Regions from separate parts of the Homo sapiens genome. Here region 2 is linked to region 1. Evidence: promoter capture Hi-C in human tissues and cell types (Jung and others, 2019). All regions are on one chromosome and are shown on one strand. The core of a region is centred on a gene start or on the middle of the fragment in contact, and the rest is flanking DNA. Distances in the headings are between cores, read along the strand shown.

Region 1 (5,015 bases), core at 1,467-3,966:
ATATTTAGTCTTATGCGTGCCTACTGGCTAATGTTCACATATGCCAAACACTACTCAATAACATAAAATAATGTATGAACTTATTCTCTGGAAATGAGTGATGCCCTCTGCTCTAAGTAGACCATTTATATTAAATATCATAAATGTATAAAGGACATTCATATTCTTATAGTGGGAATACTTGCCTTTTTTGTTGATTTTATAGCATCCATTGTATTTTGGTGAGTGAAATAATAAGAATTTTTTAGTTTAGTGTTGTTTATTATAAAAGCTACAGCTACTGGTAGAAGCTACTTATGTGAATATTTAGTCACTCCAGTTACTTACAGGAAATAATACTACCACTTCAATGCCTTCCCAGAAGACCACAGAATCTCCACATCAGCTTTGTCTTTGGAAGCATGGTGATTTTTTTGGTAGAAGTTTTATCTTTAAATGATATGTAGCTTAGCCAAAATTTTAAAACAAATAGCATTGATTCACCAGAAGATTTCTAGAAGGTGGGATAAAGTCACCCTGGACGAATGTTTGTCATATTGAATTAGCATGACTTTGAGATATAATTATGTTTGTTTTTCCCTCCCACTGTCCACTTACATTTATTCAGTGGGCAGTTCTTCCCCTTCTTCAGATGTAAATTCAGATAGAGTCATGACTTTTCTGTTCACTCTTAGGTTTTAAAGTCCTACTGTGTAGTCCCTTAAGGTCATAAAACAGTGTCATTTTAGTAAGTAATATATCCAGTCAAAATTGCAAGCTTGATTTACAGTTGATGCTTCTTCCCTCACTCACCTCTGGCCTATTGCAAGTAGGAAGCTGGTTTCTGGGGAAAGGGAGACCATGGGCTTCTCTTCTTTTTCCACCTAGGTTTCCTTCAATGTTCTCCCCCTGCCCCAACCTACCATGTCTGGGTTGTAGCAAAGAAGAGAGTTAAGGGGAGCAGGAAAGTTGTTACCTGACTGTCATTGCTGTGGTGGTAGAGGATCAGCCCTATGTGACCCTGACAGACTAAAGTTGATTCTTGTGGGCATTCTTGTGGGTTCCTTTGTCAACCTCATCACGCTACTCACCTGAGGTTCCTCTGGCAAGGCAAATGTGTACTCCTTTTTCAGCCTCTAGGAATTTGGTGACTCTTTGAGGTTCTCAGTGCTGAAGTTCATTGCCTTCCTCCCAGGCCTGTTGGGCAGGACCTAAGCTGTCTCATGGTGGTCCACATCTGCTCCATGGGAAACACCTGCACGTTCTTTGTGCTGGCAAATTCTGTGTATGCAAGCTGATCCCTCTGCAGCCATTATTCTCCGCCTCCCACCTCCACCCCAAGCTGCCTCGGCTAGCCTCTCTCGGTTCAGATTTCTCATGCATGAATCAGACATTAGTCCACGGGGACCCTCAAACTACGTATACTGCCAATGGGAGTCTAAATTGGTACCTTGATGCAATCAACCCAGAGAGCAATTTGGTAATAGCTAACAAAGTTGCAGATTTCGCAGCAAATTCACTTTTGGGAATCTGCTTGGTGAATCCATTGCACATGATGTTCATTGCTGCTCTGTAAGGCCGTTAAAGTAGAAATAACCTCTCTCACTAAGGAATGTAAAAACAAATATGGGTCAGTCATACAATGAGCAGTGAAAATTATCTAGCGATTGACCAAATGGATAAATCTTGAGAGTATAATTTTGAGAGAGGAGAAAGGTGCACAATGAGAGGTACAACTATGATTCCATTCCATGATATGTCTAAACATGCAAAAGAAAATATTATTTATGGGTATGCATATAAGGACATGCATGGACATGATATACAACATTCTCAGCACAGTGATTGCCACTGGGGAGGGAGACAGAATGAGATGGAGGAGGTACGCAGGGGCTTCTGCCTATATGTATTGTTCTATTTAAAAAAGAATGAATCATTGATTACACCTCAATAAAGCTGGGAGGAAAAAAGAATGAAAGCAAGTCTGATAAAATTTCAAGCTAGTGGTCGGTCCACAGGAATCTGTATTACTCTATTTGAAATATTTTCATTATTTTACTTAAAAAGTAACAGAAGGGAGTCAGGGAATGAACGCTGGCTGTCCGGAGTCCATCACAAGAGCTGCTACTACTCCAAGCAGACACTAGTAAATTTTGCTAGGGCCTCCTGAAGGCACTTTTGAGTCCAGACAGTCATGGTGCCAGACCCTATTCGGACATCCCACTGGCACTTGAGAGGAAAGGAAAGGAGTGCCGGGAACGTTCCCATAACTTAACGGGTTCCATTCACGTCTACAGCAGGGGAGGGCTCATGTTAAGGAAGCCCAGGAATCCAGCATATCGCCTCATCCTAGGGCCCCCTCTCACAGGAGGCCACGCCCAAGCAAGCAGAGCGTGGCCCCAGCAAGCGCCGAGCTCCCGCAAGGAGACCAAATAGCTTCGGGGTTTTGCCACTAGCTTAGCACAGGCCCATAAGCACCGGGGACTCAAGGCACCTTTGTAGAAACAATGAGTGACTGGAGTCCCAGGTCTTGCCACTACAGAGGCGCGTATGAACCACGGTTTAACACTACGTCTACGCCGAAGTTCGGGTTAGTCAGAGGCCACGCCCACCGCAGGCCCGAAAACACCAGCCTGCACTGGCGCGCCGGATTGTGCGCAGGCTCCACCTGCCACGCACGCACGCCTTGCCCCGCCCCTTCCGGAGGCTCGCCGTACGCATGCGCCCTCCGTCCCGCGCTTTGTTGCGAAAGCGAGGGGGCGAGGTGCTGCGGTGCTAGAGCGCGGCGCGACCGGACGCTGCGGGCGGGGAAGAGGATGGAGACTGTGGCGTCCGCTGCAACGGTTGGGGCTGCGCGTGAGAAGGTGGCGGTGTAGGCACCTGCGCTCGGGGAAGGCTGGCGGCGGCGGCCGAGCCATGGCGGGAGACCCCCTTCTCTGGGCTCCCTGAAGTCTCGGGGAGCCGTGACCCATGGGATCGTTGAGCAGCCGGGTGCTGCGCCAGCCAAGACCAGCCCTTGCCCAGCAGGCGCAGGGTGCCAGGGCGGGGGGCTCGGCCCGGAGGCCGGACACTGGAGACGATGCGGCGGGCCACGGATTCTGTTACTGTGCGGGCAGCCACAAGCGCAAGCGGAGCAGCGGGTCCTTCTGCTACTGTCACCCTGACTCGGAGACGGACGAGGATGAGGAGGAGGGGGACGAGCAGCAGCGGCTCCTCAACACCCCTCGAAGGTACGTGGGGGCACGCACCCGCGCGGACCCGGACCCGCACCTGTTGGGCCTGGGGCCGAGCCGGCGCCTCGTGCGCTTGCGGGGTGCAGCGCTCCCCAGCCTATGGAGAGGGGACGTGCCCTTGACAGGGTGAATGTGGAAGCCGGCCCGATGCGGGGCGGACTGGGGAGCGCCTTGGGAGACGCCAGGTGTTCCGCATTTTCAACCACAGACGCTTCCAGGGTGTTGTTACAGCCCCAAGATGAGGATGAGAAACGCCAAGCCCGAGCTCGCGTCTCGTTAAACCTTAGAGACGCCCGGCTGGCTGGCCTTCCCAGTCCACCTTTGCCCTCTCAAGTGGGTAGCCGCAGAGTAAGTTGTTTTGCATCCGGTTGCCTTAGTACAGACACTAAATGTAATCTCTGAAATAGGCACTCTTATTGTCGCCCACTCAGTGGAGGGTAAGTAATTGCACACAGGAGTTCTTGTTAATTGTAAAGGTGAAGTTTATCAATAGTGTACATTTGTTCCTAACTAGGAACAGAGTCTGTGCAAGTTTCTAGTAGTTGATGAAGTCGTTGACCGTGGATGTACTGTATGTAGGGCGGTGCTGCTGCAGCTTGTTTAACCCCTTTTTTTTTTTTTTTTGGATGAGTTGAAAGATGGAATATTGACTTGTGACCTGGAATGTAGTTTATAGGTAGAATATATGCTTACACAAACAATTTGGTTTTTCTGCTTTTGTTTTTAAAGGTTATTTGGTAGGGTCACACATGAAATTTTTTAAATGATTTCTTTTTCTTTTTGAGACAGAGCCTTGCTCTGTCACTCAGGCCGGAGTGCAGTGGTGCGATCTCAACTCACTGCAACCTCCACCTCCTGGTTCAAGCGATTCTTGTGCCTCAGCCTCCCGAGTAGCTGGGACTACCGGCGCGCACCACCACGCCTGGCTAATGTTTTCTGTTTTTAGTAGAGACAGGTTTCATCGTGTTGGCCAGGCTTGTCTCAAATTCCCGACCTCAGGTGATCTGCTGGCCTCAGCCTCCCAAAGTGCTGGAATTATAGGCGTGAGCCACTGCGCACCCGGCCTAAAATTAAACTTTAAAAGCAGATTCAAAAAGGTTTTGCTATACAAGTGTTATATATTGTAAAAAAGGAATCATAGATTAAAAACTTAATAGTTTGGTTTATAAAACCTTTTGTACCTTTTTTTGTATGAATATTTGTATTTATTATACAAAAATGTACCCCTACTGTGAATACTATTCAGTAACTTTTTTAATTGTTTGTTTGATTTTTGGAGCTTTTTTCTAAAGGAGTCTCACTATATTGCCCAGGCTGGTCTCAAACGCCTGGGTTGAAGCGATCCTCCCACCTAAGCCTCCCAAAGGGCTGAGATTACAGGTGTGAGCCACCATGCCTGACCCTGTAACCTTTTTGAAGCGTCAGTGTAGCATAGTTTTTTTTTCCTTTGGAAAAATTTTTCTCTATTTTGAGACAGGGTCTCGCTGTGTCGCCCAGGCTGGAATGCAGTGGTGGGATCATGACTCACTCTACCTCGACCTCACAGAATCAGGCAATTCTCCCACCTCAGCCTTCTGTGTAGCTGAGACCACAGGCATGCACCACCACACCCAGCTAATTTTTTTATTTGTAGAAACAAGGTCTCACTCTGTTGCCCACCCAGGCTGGCCTGGAACTCCTGGGTTCAAGTGATCCTGTTGCCTTGACCTCCCAAAGTGTTGGGATTACAGGTGTGAGCCACCATTGCCAACCTATAGCATAGTTTTAAGAGTTCTGAGTTCTTGGCCAGGTGCAGTGGCTCAT
Region 2 (5,015 bases), core at 1,786-4,285, 39 kb before region 1:
TTTATTTGTCGAAGAAACTAGATCGTTTTTTAAGTGCTGTGTCTGAGAGTCTGGATTTTGCTGACTGCAACCCTTTGGTGTGGTTTAACATTCTCCTTTCTCCTGTTTACTGGAAATTTGTTTTTGGCTCTAGAGGCTTGACTGGATTCAGGTTTGATATTTTTCCCTTTTGGGGAGAACAGGGTTCCACGTTGGTGTAGTTTGTCTTCCCCCCACTCCTTGCCCACCAACTTGAGCCACACTGGCCTCTGTCCTGCTTTCCCTACAAACTAGTTCCGGCCTCAGGACCTTTGCAGGAGCTGTTTCCTCTGCCTGTAACCCTTGCCTCCATCTTTGCATGAGCAGCTGCTTCATTTCATTCAGCTCTTAACCTCAATGTCACTCCTCAGAATGGGTCCTGCAGGACCTCTCTATCTGCTTCACAGCAATGCTCACCCCTAGGCACTTTATGGAATTGTGAATTGTTGGCTTGTTTACTGTCTGCCTCCCATGAGCTAGAGCATCAGTCCCGGGGAGCAAGAGCTTAATTTTTCATGGTCACTACTGTACCCCTAGCACCTAGAATACCATCTAGGCTATGGTCAGTGCTCAACAAATGTTTGCCGAATGAGATGCCTCCGTGTTGGTGAGAGGCTGCCTCTCAGTAACATCACTCTCTTGTGTGCTCAGGCAACCAAAGGAGGTACTGTCAAAGCTGCTTCAGGATTCAATGCCATGGAAGATGCCCAGACCCTGAGGAAGGCCATGAAAGGGCTCGGTATGTGTCCTGCTGGAAGTGAATCCTCCTGCGTGCATTGCACATCACAGGGTCACACAGGAGGGTGCCATGTCTGCTGGCCATCACGTGGGTCTTCCTTTAATAAAACACAAGGGAGGCTGGGTGTGGGGCTCATGCCTGTCATCTCAGCACTTTGGGAGGCTGAGGTGGGCAGATCACTTGAGGCCACAAGTTCGAGACAAGCCTGGCCAACATGACAAGACCCCATCTAGACTAAAAATAAAAAAATTAGCCAAGCGTGGTGGCACACACCTGTAATCCCAGCTACTTGGGAGGCTGAGGCAGGAGAATCACTTGAACCCAGGAGGTGGAGGTTGCAGTGAGCTGAGATCTCGCCATGGCACTCCAGCCTGGGAGACAGAGTGAGACTCCATCTCAAAAAAGAAAGAAAGAGGCTGGGCACGGTGGCTCACGCCTGTAATCCCAGCACTTTGGGAGGCTGAGGCGGGTGGATCACGAGGTCAGGAGATCGAGACCATCCTGGCTAACACGGTGAAACCCCGTCTCTACTAAAAATACAAAAAAATTAGCTGGGCGTGGTGGCGGGCGCCTGTAGTCCCAGCTACTCAGGAGGCTGAGGCAGGAGAATGGCGTGAACCCGGGAGGTGGAGCTTGCAGTGAGCTGAGATTGCACCACTGCACTCCAGGCTGGGCGACAGAGCGAGACTCCATCTCAAAAAAAAAAAAAAAAAGAAAGAGGGAAAGAAGGGAAGAAGGAAGGAAAGAAGGAGGAGAGGGAGGGAGGGAGGGAAAGAAAACACATGGAACAAGTTGAGATAAGTTGGGACAAACTGGATGGGGAGGGGCATTAGTTCTTCACTTTAATAAAGAATGATAAATTTAATATACTCATTATGGATTTCCCCTATTGTTTAAACCTGCTTTGAATTACGACATCATGAATCTGCATATTAAATTTTAGAAATGTATTTGTTTTCCAATTAGTGCTGGTGTGTATATGGTGCCACAGATTTACAAAGCAGTTTCACAGACATTATCTCATTGGATATATGCAACAACCTGTGATTTAGTGAAAGCAGCTATTCCTATTGTTATTTTAGCCCCATTTTACAGATGTGAAACTGAGACCCAGAGAGGCCGAGTAACTCTCACCAAGTCGCACAGTGAGTGAAACTGAGCCATGGCTCACACTAGGCAGATCCCATCTCAAGCTCGGGGTCATCAGCACTAAGTCCACATTCTTGCCTTGAGTCCGTCTGCTTGTTGCTGTGGTGATAGACACAGCTGTGACAGCACCGACATGCAATGTGTGGAATTTAATGTGAGAAGGCTGGTGAAGCAGCCTTGTTGTCTGGGGTAAATACTAAGGTTTTTGGTGTCATGGCCAAGGAGATTGAGGTTGCAGACAGACACACACACAGTGAGTTTGGAGCAGGAGTTTAATAGGCAAAAGAAAAGAACAGCTCTCCATCACAGAGAGGGGTCCCGAGCGGGTTGCCAAGTGGTAGTAAAATTGTCAGGGTTTTTATAAATGGGCTACTGAGGAGGGGGCTCATGAGCAGAGGAGGTCTTATCCTCCTAGGGTCCAGTGGTTTGGTTGGGACCAGGTGTGCCTTCTATATAGAGCAGAGTTTTTTTAAATCAGCTCTTATCCCATTCTCTGACCACATAGATGGACTCTTATTCTGTGTTTCTTTGTCTTGCTTATCTGGGAGGGAGAGTTTCTGTGTCTGTTCCCACACATCTTCTTGCAGCTGCAGACATCCACCCAAGTCTGTTTTTAGCTCCTCAATCTTACTGCGCCTAAAGGGAAGGAATATGCTTATTAAGACCCACTGTTTTACTGGGGCCCACTGTGTAAATGTGAAGTTTGGTGATTACCCAGGAGACTTCCCCCTCCCTTTCTGTGCTCAAGCCATCTTCTCTGTGTTTTACAGCCTGAACTTTCAGGCTGCTTGTTGTTAGAAGAGAAGTGCTTTTTTTTTGAACTGCATGAGGTTAGAAAGGGAGCTATTTTTGAGCTGCTTTTTGTTAAAAGGAAAGTTTTCTGCTGGGGACTCACTTTACCCTAAATGTCTACCTAAATCATTTCTTTCTGCCTCCTATAACATATTTCCCCCCTCAGGAATGAAATCCATAACTGCTGCTAGGGGAAACTGGGTGACGATTTCTTCTGGCTACTTCCTGCTGGAGAGTGGCGTTGTGTGGGGAACAGCAGCTAGGGCTCCTCCTGGGGTTGATTTAAGGGTCCCTCGTAGGAGGGCAGTTTCATTTTCGGCTCCATTTTCAGCACCATCTGAAGCTTGATGGTTTCTAAGCGAGAAGAGATAAACTTCACAAGGAGGTTTAGAATATAGGTTCTAAATATGAGTATTAAGATTACTATTATTAATGGGGGCACTATAGGCCGTAACCATGACAACAGAGTTTGTTTGATACCTGTGAGCCATTCAGATGGGTTGTGCTGCTGTAAGTGGGTATATGGGGCTTGGCTTTGTTTAGCTTCCTTGGTCTTACTTTCCCAAAAAAGGGAGAAACCCTGGGGTTCTAGTTTACCTGGCAGGATTTGTAGGATAATTGCCCAGAACTAGAACATGTTTCCAGATTTTTCTATTACCGATGCCTTTCTGTTTTCTCTGAGCTGCAGCCAGAGATTCCTGGTTGGTTGACAGGAGTAAGCAGGGTTAGTTTAAAATGTAGGCAAGAACTTAAAAACAACTGATGGGACTACAGGTTAATAACAGATGTATGATAAGTCTTAAAACATAATTTCTCTTTCTCTAGTCCTCATTTTTGTTAAAAATAATCTATGATAGGACTGAGTTGTTTGCAAAACAGACTTCAGTCCTATACTTGGCCTAATTATTTGCATAAAGTACAGCAAGAATAATCATCCTTACATAAGCCTCTTAGATTGGCTTTGATGGAACCTTGTTCCATGAGGAATTTTAGATAGGACTTTTTAAAGCCAAGCCCAGCCATAGGTTTGTACTTTTAAATACCTGTGAGTTGGATAAATTTTTTTCCTTCTTGAGGTTCCAGAAGCATGGGGTTCCTAGGCCTGTTAGAAAGTGACATTCTTTACTCACTGCAGGTCAGGAACCCTGTATGGAGACTGTGTAGACAGATATGAGGCCAGTTTTCCCCAGGGGCTTTTATTGGCTCAGCAAGTTAAGCTTGATTCCTTAAAGGGAAATATACCCTTCTAGTCAAAGCCTTGGTAAAACAACCAGTTTTTCCAATTGTGTTTTGTTGCAAGAGAAAATGGATTCTTGCTGCACTGATTCAAACAACTATATTGTTGTAATTTAAGAATATTTATAACTAGTTTCCAAATTCTACAGGAATTAGGCAGAGAGACATAAACATGCTCCAAACTTTGCCTATAGTAGTACACTTTGCTTAGTTATCAAAGGCTGTAGCTAGCTTAAGACAAGTTTTTTTGACTCTAAAAAATAAAATAAGGATTAGCCGTGTTCTAAGAATAAGTGAAGAATATTGCTTTAGTTTTCTATTAGTTCAGTTCATTCCATTAACTTTTGTTTTGATATTTATAAACATTTTAGCCTTTTATGAGTCCCATACATTTTTTGGTCATGACAAACCTGCATTGGAGAGAACTTGTTAAAGTCCCATGGCTTGATTATGAACCATCTTTTGAAGAGAATTAAAACAAAACAACAATTGTCTGTAAATGACAAAATGTCCAGTTTGGATACAGTCAGAAATACAATTGACAAAGAAATTTGGTTATTTTTGTGTTTTTCAAAAACCCAGCATAACAACCTTAATTGTAATAGCACATATTCAGACACTAGAACCATAGACATCCCATACAGTTTTGGAACACATGTTAATATTATTCCCTAAAGTATAACCTGAAGAGTATTAGACATCATTTTGGCAATTTTATGTACCTCAACATGTTAAATAATACTGTTTACCTCTCTTCTAGATGCTTCAGGGGTCCTCTGCAGCACCCAAAAGCCAGGGGTTAGGAAAGACAGACTTGAGACTAAAGTTTGACTTTGGGAAGCCTGTTAAGTATATTTAAAATTTAAAACACTTGATATTATGAAATAGAATTTTAGATTACCAAAAGTTTTTGTTTTTGCCAAAATGTTGAGCCAGAAATTTGAAAAAGCAAAAACCATTCATTAGCCTTTTCTATTCCATGAAAATCCCGTGTTAAGAGAGAAAGTTAAATTTTACCCTTGCATTAGTTTGCTATTAATGTTAAACTTAATTTTAAATGAAACATTATAGACAATCCTAT

The links. Contacts are between HindIII fragments. The study calls those that stand out against the background at their distance.
Region 2: a fragment that was not itself captured here is called in contact with the fragment with the promoter of GMCL1 in region 1 in 1 of the 25 tissues and cell types used here (aorta).

The regions. Positions count from the first base shown.
Region 1 is chr2:69,826,944-69,831,958 of GRCh38, forward strand. It overlaps GMCL1 (germ cell-less 1, spermatogenesis associated), which reads left to right and starts at 2,717. Exons shown (of 14, transcript NM_178439.5): 1 at 2,717-3,209. The coding sequence starts at 2,950. It overlaps LOC124906021 (a long non-coding RNA gene), which reads right to left and starts at 2,588. Exons shown (of 2, transcript XR_007086846.1): 1 at 1,071-2,588. ANXA4 (annexin A4) reads left to right here. Exons shown (of 13, transcript NM_001153.5): 13 at 1-169. RefSeq lists enhancers at 1,753-2,674, 2,069-2,158, 2,675-3,595 and silencers at 2,569-2,798, 3,179-3,258, 3,206-3,381. The HindIII fragment of the contact is 8,350 bases long and covers 42-5,015 here.
Region 2 is chr2:69,787,385-69,792,399 of GRCh38, forward strand. It overlaps ANXA4 (annexin A4), which reads left to right. Exons shown (of 13, transcript NM_001153.5): 3 at 670-757. It overlaps SMANTIS (SMARCA4 interacting SWI/SNF chromatin remodeling complex scaffold lncRNA), which reads right to left. Exons shown (of 3, transcript NR_164155.1): 2 at 2,881-3,052; 3 at 2,165-2,542. Among named protein-coding and RNA genes, the nearest start is that of SMANTIS, 9.1 kb to the right of the region's middle. The HindIII fragment of the contact is 4,638 bases long and covers 717-5,015 here.